Linked DNA regions of Homo sapiens: all the other regions are linked to region 1. Evidence: promoter capture Hi-C in human tissues and cell types (Jung and others, 2019). All regions are on one chromosome and are shown on one strand. The core of a region is centred on a gene start or on the middle of the fragment in contact, and the rest is flanking DNA. Distances in the headings are between cores, read along the strand shown. Region 1 holds the start of OPRD1 (opioid receptor delta 1). Region 2 overlaps YTHDF2 (YTH N6-methyladenosine RNA binding protein F2). Region 3 overlaps OPRD1 (opioid receptor delta 1).

Region 1 (3,487 bases), core at 379-2,878:
CTGAGTCCACGACCTGACCTATGCCCTGCATGGTGGCACCCACAGCCCAGAGAGGTTTAGGGCCATGTCCTTGGTCCACCAGCATGAAGGACCCATTTTCAACTAACAGCAAATACGAGGGCATCTTTGTTGTTTTAAAGATGGAAATTTTCCTCTCAACCCTTACTGGCCATGTCTGAGCTTGTGGGGCTGTATCAGGAGGGCTACTTCTGGGGCAAGCTGACGTCTTAGGCTCTCTGAGAAGGTCCCAGCACTCTCCATAAACTCCAAGAAGAGCACCTCACTTCCTGGGATGAAAACTCAAAATCCACTCCCGCCCAGACCAACCTCTGCTGCCTCTGGCAGAAGAAAAGACTGTTAGAGGAGGCAAAGAGAAAATGGGAGAGGGCATTTGTGAGGAGGGCGTGAGTCTTCTCTGAATCCTATTCAGAATTCCTGACCAGATGGGCACTGGCGAAGGGAACAGAGAACCGGTTGGCGGCCCACAGCTGTCGCCCATGTTATCCAGGAATCACTGGCAAAGGCACACACAGCTGCACAAACACAGGGACGACGGCCACTCCGGATGCTCTGCCGCCCTCGGGGTTTCAAGAGCTTGACAAGAAACAACAGTCACATTGTTACATTCAGACAGAATCACAAACTGACCGTTAGGGACAAGCTCACACCAACAGATGAGCACCAAATATGACTTGGTAAGGGCCCCACGGCGAGGTGCTGACACCCAGCACCCTCCTGTCCGCCCTGCCTGCACGGTGCCCTCACACCGGTCTCCCCAAAGGCCCGCGGCACCTCAGAGCAGCTCTGCCCACCCCATGGGCATGTTTCCGACGTCCAAACATACAGTTGTACTGTCACAACCATCCACTCACAAACTGTGACAGACACACAAACTGACGCCAAACTGTCCCACAAAGAAGCAAGGGGATGCCAACAGATGATCAAATGTAATTTAGTCAACCGCGGCGCACTCCCCCCCCCGCACCACACACACACATACACACGATGACACACATTCCTGTGTTCCCCTCGATGTAAGTGGCCTCGCCTCTCGCTGGGCCCCAGGTGCCCCTGCAGGAAATGCGGAGGCGCGGGGAGTCCAGGGAACGGGCTTGGGGTCTCAAGTTCGTGATCCCCACCCTCACCCCGGGCTCCAGCCCTGCGGCGCCGGCCCGCAGCGGACTCACCGGACGATGCCGAACATGACAAGCACGTTGCCCAGCAGCCCCACGGCGCACACGGCCGAGTAGAGCGCGGTGATGGCGATTGCCAGGGCGAGGGACGAGGCGCTCCGCGCGCCTGGCGGCCCCGACGCATTGGCGCCAGCGCTGGGGCAGGCGCTAGGGTAGGCGTCCGAGGCGTTGGCGAAGAGCGGGGGCTGCAGCTCGGCGCCGGCGGAGGGGGCCGGTTCCATGGCTGCCGGCCGGCTCCGCCGCGTCCCTCTCCACCGTGCGCCCTGGGCGCGGGGATCCGACGCGAGGGGAGCGGCAAGGCAGAGGCCGCGGCCCCGACGCCGCCGGCTGCCGCGCCCCGGCCGCCCCGCTGTCTCTGCGCCTCGTCCGCCTGCCTCGCCGCCCGCACCGGCCCAGCCCCCGGCGTCCGCCCGCTCTCCTCGCCCGGAGCGCTGTGAGCCAGGAGCAGCCGCAGGCTCCTCGGACGCGCCCGCCGCGCGCACCACGTGGCCCGGAGGCGGCCGCCAGTCTGCGCCCGCGACCGGGGGCGGACGCTGCACCACCGGCTCGGAGCTGGGCAGGGGAGGCCTCCCGCCCCCTCCCTAGGGATGCTCCGCCGGCTCGAGTGCGACCCCGTCCCAACCTGGACTCCCCTCCCACCCCCTTGCCACTTTGGTGTCAGAGGGACCTGGGTGTGGATCCCGCCTCCCGCCCCTGCACTAACAGGCGGAGTGACCTTGTGTAAGTCACTTAACCTCCCTCAGCTTCATTCTCTTTGTCTGTGAGATGAGGAAAATCGTACCACCTCCCTCAGAGGGTGGTTGGGGAGATTGAATAAAATGATTCGAACAAAGAGCTTAGAGCAGTGCCCTGCGGACAGTTACATGCTCCGTAAATAACCTATATTATCCGTGCCTTTCTTGCACCCCATTCATTCGCTCAACAAAAATTCTGAGGGTGCCTAATAGAAGAGCCGGGTATTTGGGGGGACCCTCTAGTACACAAAACCAGATGCAGCCTCTGCTTCCTGGGGCTTACAGCCCAGTGCAGGAGAGAGAGCGAGCAACCCTAAAATGACATTAAGATATAGGTACGAATTGAGAAAGTGGCAGGGTCTACAAAACCCAGGGGTCAGGACAGCTTCCCTGGGGAAACGACACTTGAGGTGAGGTGTGAAGTTTGGGGAAGAACTAACTTAAGGAAGTAACAAGGGAAGAGGATTCCGGATAAAGGAAGCAGAGGGACTGAAAGGAAGCCAGGAAGAGGAGAAGGCAGGAAGTGAGGGGGCGATGAGGTGGTGGGCAGGCTCTTGAAGACCACCTTAAGGAGCACTCTGGCTGCAGTGCGAGCAGATAGAAGGGGGGCACTTGGCTAAGTCATCCTTGCCACACCCCTTCCAAGACCTAACCATTCCAGATTAGAGCCATCCTTCTTCTTGGGGTGCCTAGCCTTTCCAGAACATTCTACCAAGCATTACTTTGCTCCAGGCACTGTGATAAGCACTTTATCCATGCACCAACACTTTGGTGTAGCTTCTATTATTATTGTCCCCATGTTACAGATTTAGTGCTCAGCACTAAATTATCCCATATAGTAATTATTTCTATCCGAACTGGTCTCCCTCCTTAAAGGGACCAGGTCTGATTGACCCCTGCATCCAGGAGAGGGCTGGGGTCACAGCAGGTGCTCAAGAAATACTTTTTGGATAATAAAGATCCCAAAGGGAACTGGAGTGGAACAATATTAGGGGTTCTGAGCTCTAGGCTCTGGGGCAATGCTCTTGGATCTGTGTGTGGCTGGACAAGGAGCTCTCCCTCATCTCACCCTCTAGCTTGAATCATCCATATATGTGCAAGGCTCCTACCCTTTCCCAGAAAAAAGCAAAGCCAGAATTCCCAAGCTCACCCTCTTCTCCATTTTCTCCACCCCACTTAGCTGCTGTCCAGCCACTTCTACCAACTACAGCAAGCCCCCCACCCCAGGGCTTTCCCACTCAACCACCTAAGGACTTATCAGAAAGATTTTTGCTGTGGTCACCTGCTGCCAAAACTCTCTCCCTTTCCCAAAGGGCCTGGTACTCAGAAACTTTTCTAGTGCCAGCAGAGAGAAATTGGGATAGGAAGAAGGAGGGCTACTTTATTGGAATTCTGGTCCCCTCCCTAACCCTCCAAGCCAAGTTTTTTCCTACCTCAGGACATTTGTACATGCTATTCCTTCCACTCGGAAGGCTGGGCCAATACCCCAGCCTAAGCGTTATTTACCCCTCAAATTTCAGCTTAAATATCACTTCCTTTGTGAAACCTTCCCTGATCCCC
Region 2 (3,487 bases), core at 434-2,933, 58 kb after region 1:
CATCTGCAGTCATCTGTTACCTCTCTGCAGCCTCTGAGTTAAGTGTACTCTACCATACTGCTTGAAGTTCCATACAGGCTGTGTATCCCCTATCTGAAATTCTTGGGGTAAGAAATGTTTTGGATTTCAGATTTTTTGAATATTTGTAGATACATACTGGTTGAGCAACCCTAATCTGAAAATCCAAAATAGGAAATGCTCCAATGAACATTTTCTTCAGTGTCATGTGTGCACTCAGTTTCAGACTTTGGGGCATTTCAGATTTTCAAATTAGGAATACTCAACCTGAATAGCCCCTTCCTTGTTCTCTTTCTGAAACTCAAACTATTCTCTCTCAATCTCTTTCACTTGCTCCCTCTTTATTCTTCAAATTTTGTTATTTCTGGGGAACTTTTTCCATAGTCCTTTTCTCTCACTCGTGTTGGCTCTAGAACCACGCTGCAGAATTAGAACACCAGCTTTACTTTCGTATCTCATGTGCCTTTGCAAAGTTATTTACTCTTTTCTGTGTTTTAATGTTTTCATCAGTAAAACTGAGCTACTTATACCTACCTCACAAGGATACAAGAATTAAATGAACATACATTTAAATATATATTCAAGACAACTGTATGCTAGACACTGTACAGAGCATTCAATAACTGTTAGCCATTCTTATTACAAGAATCTTTGAAAAGTCAAACTCTTCCATGCCTTTACCTATCCTGAGGGTTGAAAATTCAAATTCCTGTCAACAATCTGAGCTCCAGATTCCCAGCTGCCTACTATCACCTGGCTGCTGCTACTATCACAGGCACCTGAAACTATTTCCAAAAGCCAATACAACCCCAAATCCTAACCCTAAACTGCTGCTCCTCTCATCATCTTTAATTTTTGAAAAACTAGTCAACAAATATGTCTACCACATTCTTCATATCCAGTTTCCCGTTCCCACTGTCCTGGTTCAGGCCCTCATCATCTTTTTTTCCCCAGAATACTGTAAAAGCATCTCGTTTAGTCTCTGAGCCATCTCCCACCCCTTTTTTTTTTTTTTTTTTTTTGAGCTGTCACCCAGGCTGGAATGCAGTGTTGCGATCTCGGCTCACTGTAACCTCTGCCTCCCAGGTTCAAGTGATTCTCATCCCTCAGCTCCCTGAGTAGCTGGGACTATAGGACTATAGGCACACACCACCACTCTTGGCTAATTTTTTTGTTTGTTTGAGACGAAGTTTTGCTCTCATTGCCCAGGCTGGAGTGCAGTGGAGCAATCTCGGCTCACTGCAACTGCCGCCTTCTGGTTTCAAGTGATTCTCCTGCCCCAGCCCCCTGAATACAGGCACCCACCACCACGCCCAGCTAATTTTTTAGTAGAGATGGGGTTTCACCATGTTGCCAGGCTGGTCTTGAACTCCTGACCTTGCGAACTACCCACCTCAGCCTCCCAAAGTGCTGGGATTACAGGCATGAGCCACCGCGCCCGGCCAATTTTTTTTTTGAGACACAGTCTCGCTCTTTCGCCCAGGCTGGAGTGCAGTAGCGCTATCTCAGCTCACTGCAAACTCCGCCTCCAGTGTTCACACCATTCTCCTGCCTCAGCCTCCTGAGTAGCTGGGACTACAGGCGCCCGTCACCACGCCCGGCTAATTTTTTTGTATTTTTAGTAGAGACAGTGTTTCGCCATGTTGGCCAGGCTGGTATCAAACTCATGGCCTCAAATGACCTGCCAACCTTGGCCTCCCAAAGTGCTGGAATTAGAGGCGTGAGCCAACTCACCCAGCCTCATAGATGTTTTGATAAGTTGCTTTCCTAAGCTTCCATTTGTTGATCTATAAATACAGGATACTGCCTCCCAGGTTGGTATGGGGATTAAAGTAAGGCTATGAAAGTACCTAGCATGGTGCTTAACAAGGTCAATGCTCAGTAAGTGTTTCATCCTTCCCATCCTCCAAACTGTTATTCCCTAATTAACTACCCTCCCTTACAACCAAACTAAAACACAGGTAAAGAATAAAATCCTAGGCCGAGCGCAGTGGCTCACACCTGTGATCCCAGCACTTTGGGAGGCCAAGGCAGGCAGATCACCTGAGGTCAGGAGTTTGAGACCAGCCTAGCCAACATGATGAAACCCTGTCACCACTAAAAATACAAAAATTAGCTGGGCGTGGTGACAGGCACCTGTAATCCCAGCTACTCGGGAGGCTGAGGCAGGAGAATCGCTTGAACCTGGGAGGGGGAGGCTGCAGCGAGCCAAGATCGCGCCATTGCACTCCAGCCTGGGGGACAAAGCGAGATTTTTGTCTCAGAAAAAAAAAAAAAAAAAGAATAAAATCCTGAAACTCTTCATATACTTGCCCAACCAATCTCTCCAGCGTTATCACTTACCATTCTAGACCACATTAAACTTCTCATTCTGAAAACATACCATAAGCATTCTCAAGACTATGTTTTTAACATGCTCTTACTAGAATGCCATTTTTTGGAAGACAGGGTCTCACTGTGCCCAGACTGGAGTACAGTGGTACCATCATGACTCACTGCAGACTTGACGTCCCGGGCTCAAGCAATCCTCCTGTCTCAGCCTCCTGAGCAACTAGGACTACAGGTGTGCCTCATCACACCTGGCTGATTTTTTTTTTTTTTTTTTTTTTTTTTTTTTTTTTTTTTTTGGAGAGGCAGGATTTCATTATGTTGCCTAGGCTGGTCTCAAACTCCTGGGTTCAAGTGATTCTCTTGCTGCAGCCTCCCCAAAGTGCGAGGATTACGGGCATGAGCCACTGCACCTAGCCATTTCTCTACTTTTCTATCTGGCAAACTTCATAGATCATGGAGTAGTCCATGAGCTTCGGGGTTAGAGACTCAGTGGCTCTCCAGGTGTAAGTTCCAATATACAAACATGAAACATGTTTTGAGCAACTTCTTTGCTAAACTGGGTAATAGTTTTTCAAATATTAGAATATTTCCTCAAAAAAATTTTTTTTTCTAGGGACAGTCTCCTGCTGTCACCCAGGCTGGGGTGCAGTGGCATGATCACAGCTCATTGCAGCTTTCATTTCCTGGACTCAAGCAATCCTCCTGCCTCAGCCTCCTGAGTAGCTATACTTTAGTTATGCGCCACCAAGTCTGGTTAATTTTTTTTAAATTTTTTGTAGAGACAAGGTCTCGCTATGCTGCCCAGGCTGGTCTCAAACTCCTGAGCTCAGGCAATCCTCCCACCTCAGCCTCCCAAAGTGTTGGGATTACAGGTGTGAGCCACTGTGCAGGACAAATTTTTGTGTTATTGAAAAAAAATGTTTAAGAGCTACAGTCGTGACACACAAATTTAATCTGCAATCAATATTTTCTCCATCACTATGAAGTCTAGACAATCAGCAAAAATTAAACATTGATTTATATACAGCATTTGTCAATTTCCACGATGTAACTAACAGCTGGGCCAGGCATGGTGGCTCACACCTGTAATCCCAGCACTTTGGGAGGCCGAGGCAGGCAGATCACAAGGTCAGGGGTT
Region 3 (3,487 bases), core at 464-2,963, 37 kb before region 1:
TGAGGTTAGGAGTTGGAGACCAGCCTGACCAACATGGAGAAACCTCATCTCTACTAAAAATACAAAATTAGCCAGGCGTGGTGGAGCGTGCCTGTAATCCCAGCTACTCTGGAGGCTGAGGCAGGAGAATCGCTTGAACCCAGGAGGTGGAGGTTGCGGTGGGCTGAGATTGTGCCACTACACTCCAGCCTGGGCAACAAGAGTGAAACTCCGTCTCAAAAAAATAAAATTTGTAGAGATGCAGTCTCCCTATGTTGCCTAGGCTGGTCTCGAACTCCTGGGTTCAAGTGTTCCTTACACATTGGCCTCCCAAAGTTCTAGGATTACAGGCACAAGAGATCATGCCTGGCCCCTGTCTTTTTAAAAAGTTTGACTCTCAGCTGGGCGCCGTGGCTCAAGCCTGTAATCCCAGCACTTTGGGAGGCCGAGGTGGGCAGATCACGAGGTCAGAAGATTGAGACCATCCTGACTAACACAGTGAAACCCTGTCTCCACTACAAATACAAAAAAATTAGCCAGACGTAGTGGCGGGCACCTGTAGTCCCAGATACTCTGGAGGCTGAGGCAGGAGAATGGCGTGAACCTGGGAGGCGGAGCTTGCAGTGAGCCGAGATCGCGCCACTGCACTCCAGCCTGGGCGACAGAGCGAGACTCCGTCTCAAAAAAAAAAAAAAAAAAAAAAGTTTGACTCTCATGTTTTATTTTTCCAGTGCCCTTTCTTCTTCTCTTGTTATTCCTTTTTCATATAGCACTTATAGTATCTTATTTCAGGGACATGATACCTTCTCTTAACTCTCCGAGGATGCTAAGAAGCCTTGTTTAGTATTTTCTTCTGCTCTCTGCATCTTTTACTTGCTTCAAACATTTTTGTTCCTTCATCTGCTTTAGCCTTCCTCTCTTATCCTGGAGAATTCCTTCAAGTATCTGGTGATATATAATATAATTAAACGCTGATTTTTAAATGAAGCACTAAATAACTGGCAGCTCCGTGCGTGTGCACGTGTGCGTGGGCACGTGTGTGTGCCCCTGTGTGTGCGTGTGTGTGTGTGCATGTGTGTGTGTGTATGTGTATCAGTGTGAGGGCTCTGTCAACTGGTGGGCTTCACTGTAGGGGAACTGAGTGATGATCTGGCTTTTACACTGAGGCACATGTAAATATCAATTTCCGTAGGTCTCTTCTCTGGCCTTCAGGCCTTCAGAAAATAATCTCCCCATCTCTCACCCGGGTTGCATACCTCTGGCTGCCAGAATTCTGTTGGCAGAGCTGGAGAAAGGGCCCGGGAGTCCCCCCATCTCCCCATTAAAAAAAAAATTAAAATAGAGATGAGGGTCTCACTATGTTGCTCAGACTGGTCTCCAACTCCTGGGCTCAAGTGATCCTCCCACCTCAGCCTCCCAAAGTGCTGGGATTACAGGCATGAGCCACCGTGCCTGGCCTCCTGCTCCCCATTTACCTTTGGTATCTTGTCCTGACCCTTTCTGTGTCTGCTGGCCCTGAGTCCAGACTTCCTCCATGTTAACTTCTCCAGGAAAAGAAAAAACCTTGCCTTCTTGCAGAGTGGAGGGTAGCCATCTGGTTGTGCAGGATACAAAGATGGGGGTGCCTAACAGTCCCAGTACTCCCTCTAGACAATCATCCTCTTGCCCCTGTTTTCTGTCCCACACCTCACCCCTGCTGTCATTCCTCTTCCAGTTGTTTCTCGTGGTCCAAATATGTATTGACATCTCTTAGAGAAGGTAAACTGAGACACAAGAGGCGAGGTGATTTATCCAAGGTCATATGACCAGTAAGTGGCAGAGCTGGTATTGAACTCAGTCTAAGTGCCAACATCTGGTAACCACTCAGTACTTGTTATCTTCCTTCCTTCCCCACCTCTCACAGTGAAAAAGAATGTGAACTTACTATAAACTGGGGTTTGCTCACTCATCTAACAGGTATTAAGTGGACACTTGAACTGTGCCAGGCACTGAATAAGTGATCTAGGAGTAATGGCGACAGTCTGGCCTCTTGAAATCTGTGACCTTAGGGAGGGGGCAGACATTGAACAAACTGCTGCATTAATTAATGAACAGTTACCTGCTATTACCAAGATGCCATGAAGGATAAGAACGGAGTATATTGATGGACACTGCCTAGTGGGGGTGACAGGCTGGGGAGTGTGGAGGGACCCTGGCTTAGATTAGAAGGTCAACAATGGCTTCTCTGAGGAGGTGTGCTATGAACTGAATTCAGTTCCCTCAAATTCATATACTGAAGCCCTAACTCCCAACGTGATGGTATTGGGGTTTCTCTTGCTGTCATTTTTTTTTTTTAGACGGAGTCTTGCTCTGTCCAGGCTAGAGTGCAGTGGCACGATCTCGGCTCACTGCAACCTCCGCCTCCCAGGTTCAAGCGATTCTCCTTTCTCAGCCTCCTGAGTAGCTTGGGATTACAGGTACCCGCCATCCCGCCCGGCTAATTTTTGTATTTTTAGTAGGGAACAGGGTTTCACCATCTTGGCCAGATTCGTCTGGAACTCCTGACCTCATGATTCACCTGCCTTGGCCCCCAAAAGTGCTGGGATTACAGGCATGAGCCACCGTGCCTGGCAAATTTTTTTTCCAATAACTGGGTTTTTTTTGTTTTTTGTTTTTGGCTTTATTCTGCAGTTTACATATGAGAGCCCTAAGCCCAACACAACACTTGATTTTCTGGTTTTATTTATTTATTTTTATTTATTTATTTTTGAGGCAGGTTCTCACCCTGTTGCCCATGCTGGAGTGCAGTGGTGCAATCATAGCTCACTGTAGCTTTGGCCTTCTGGGCTCAAGCGATCCTACCTCAGTCTCCCAAGTAGCTGTGTTTACAGGTGCACACCACCACACCTGGCTAATTTTTAAATTATTTGTAGAGACAGGGTTTCACCATGTTGTCCAGGCTGGTCTCAAACTCCTGGGCTCAAGCAATCCACCCACCTCAGTCTCCCAAAGTGCTGGGATTACAGGCCTGAGCCATTGTGCCCAGCCTTTATTATTCTTTCAGTATCCATGTCCACAGAGACTGCTTCTCCCAATAACACATGCCATTTGATCCTCAGCTGGTACATGTACAACGTCAAAGAACCTGGGCCCTTCCATTTAAGTGCACTCATGTCAATTTGGGCTGGACCTCTGCCCTGGTCCTGTCACCTCTGAGGTGTCCTCAGGTCAGAAATGCAAACAGGCTCGGCTGGGCGCGGTAGCTCACGGCTGTAATCCCAGCACTTTGGGAGGCCAAGGCAGGCAGATCACCTGAAGTCAGGAGTTTAAGACCAGCCTGGCCAACATGGCGAAACCCCATCTCTATTAAAAACATAAAAATTAGCTGGGCATGGTGGCGGGCACCTGTAATCCCAGCTACTCAGGAGGCTGAAGTAGGAGAATTGGTTGAACCCGGGAGGCAGAGGTTGCAGTGAGCTGAGATCGCGCCACTGAACTCCAGCCTGGGCCACAAGAGCCAAACTCCGTC

The links. The method cuts DNA at HindIII sites, captures the fragments that hold promoters and counts their contacts. A contact is called where the count stands out against the background at its distance.
Region 2: a contact is called between a fragment that was not itself captured here and the fragment with the promoter of OPRD1 in region 1, in 1 of the 25 tissues and cell types used here (neural progenitor cells).
Region 3: a fragment that was not itself captured here is called in contact with the fragment with the promoter of OPRD1 in region 1 in 2 of the 25 tissues and cell types used here (adrenal gland and aorta).

The regions. Positions count from the first base shown.
Region 1 is chr1:28,810,311-28,813,797 of GRCh38, reverse strand. It overlaps OPRD1 (opioid receptor delta 1), which reads right to left and starts at 1,628. Exons shown (of 3, transcript NM_000911.4): 1 at 1,188-1,628. The coding sequence starts at 1,414. The HindIII fragment of the contact is 21,122 bases long and covers 1-3,487 here.
Region 2 is chr1:28,752,517-28,756,003 of GRCh38, reverse strand. The region is part of intron 4 of YTHDF2 (YTH N6-methyladenosine RNA binding protein F2); the gene reads right to left. Among named protein-coding and RNA genes, the nearest start is that of YTHDF2, 17 kb to the right of the region's middle. RefSeq lists an enhancer at 994-1,493. The HindIII fragment of the contact is 8,261 bases long and covers 1-3,487 here.
Region 3 is chr1:28,847,071-28,850,557 of GRCh38, reverse strand. All of the region lies in intron 1 of OPRD1 (opioid receptor delta 1), which reads right to left. Among named protein-coding and RNA genes, the nearest start is that of OPRD1, 37 kb to the right of the region's middle. The HindIII fragment of the contact is 8,802 bases long and covers 1-3,487 here.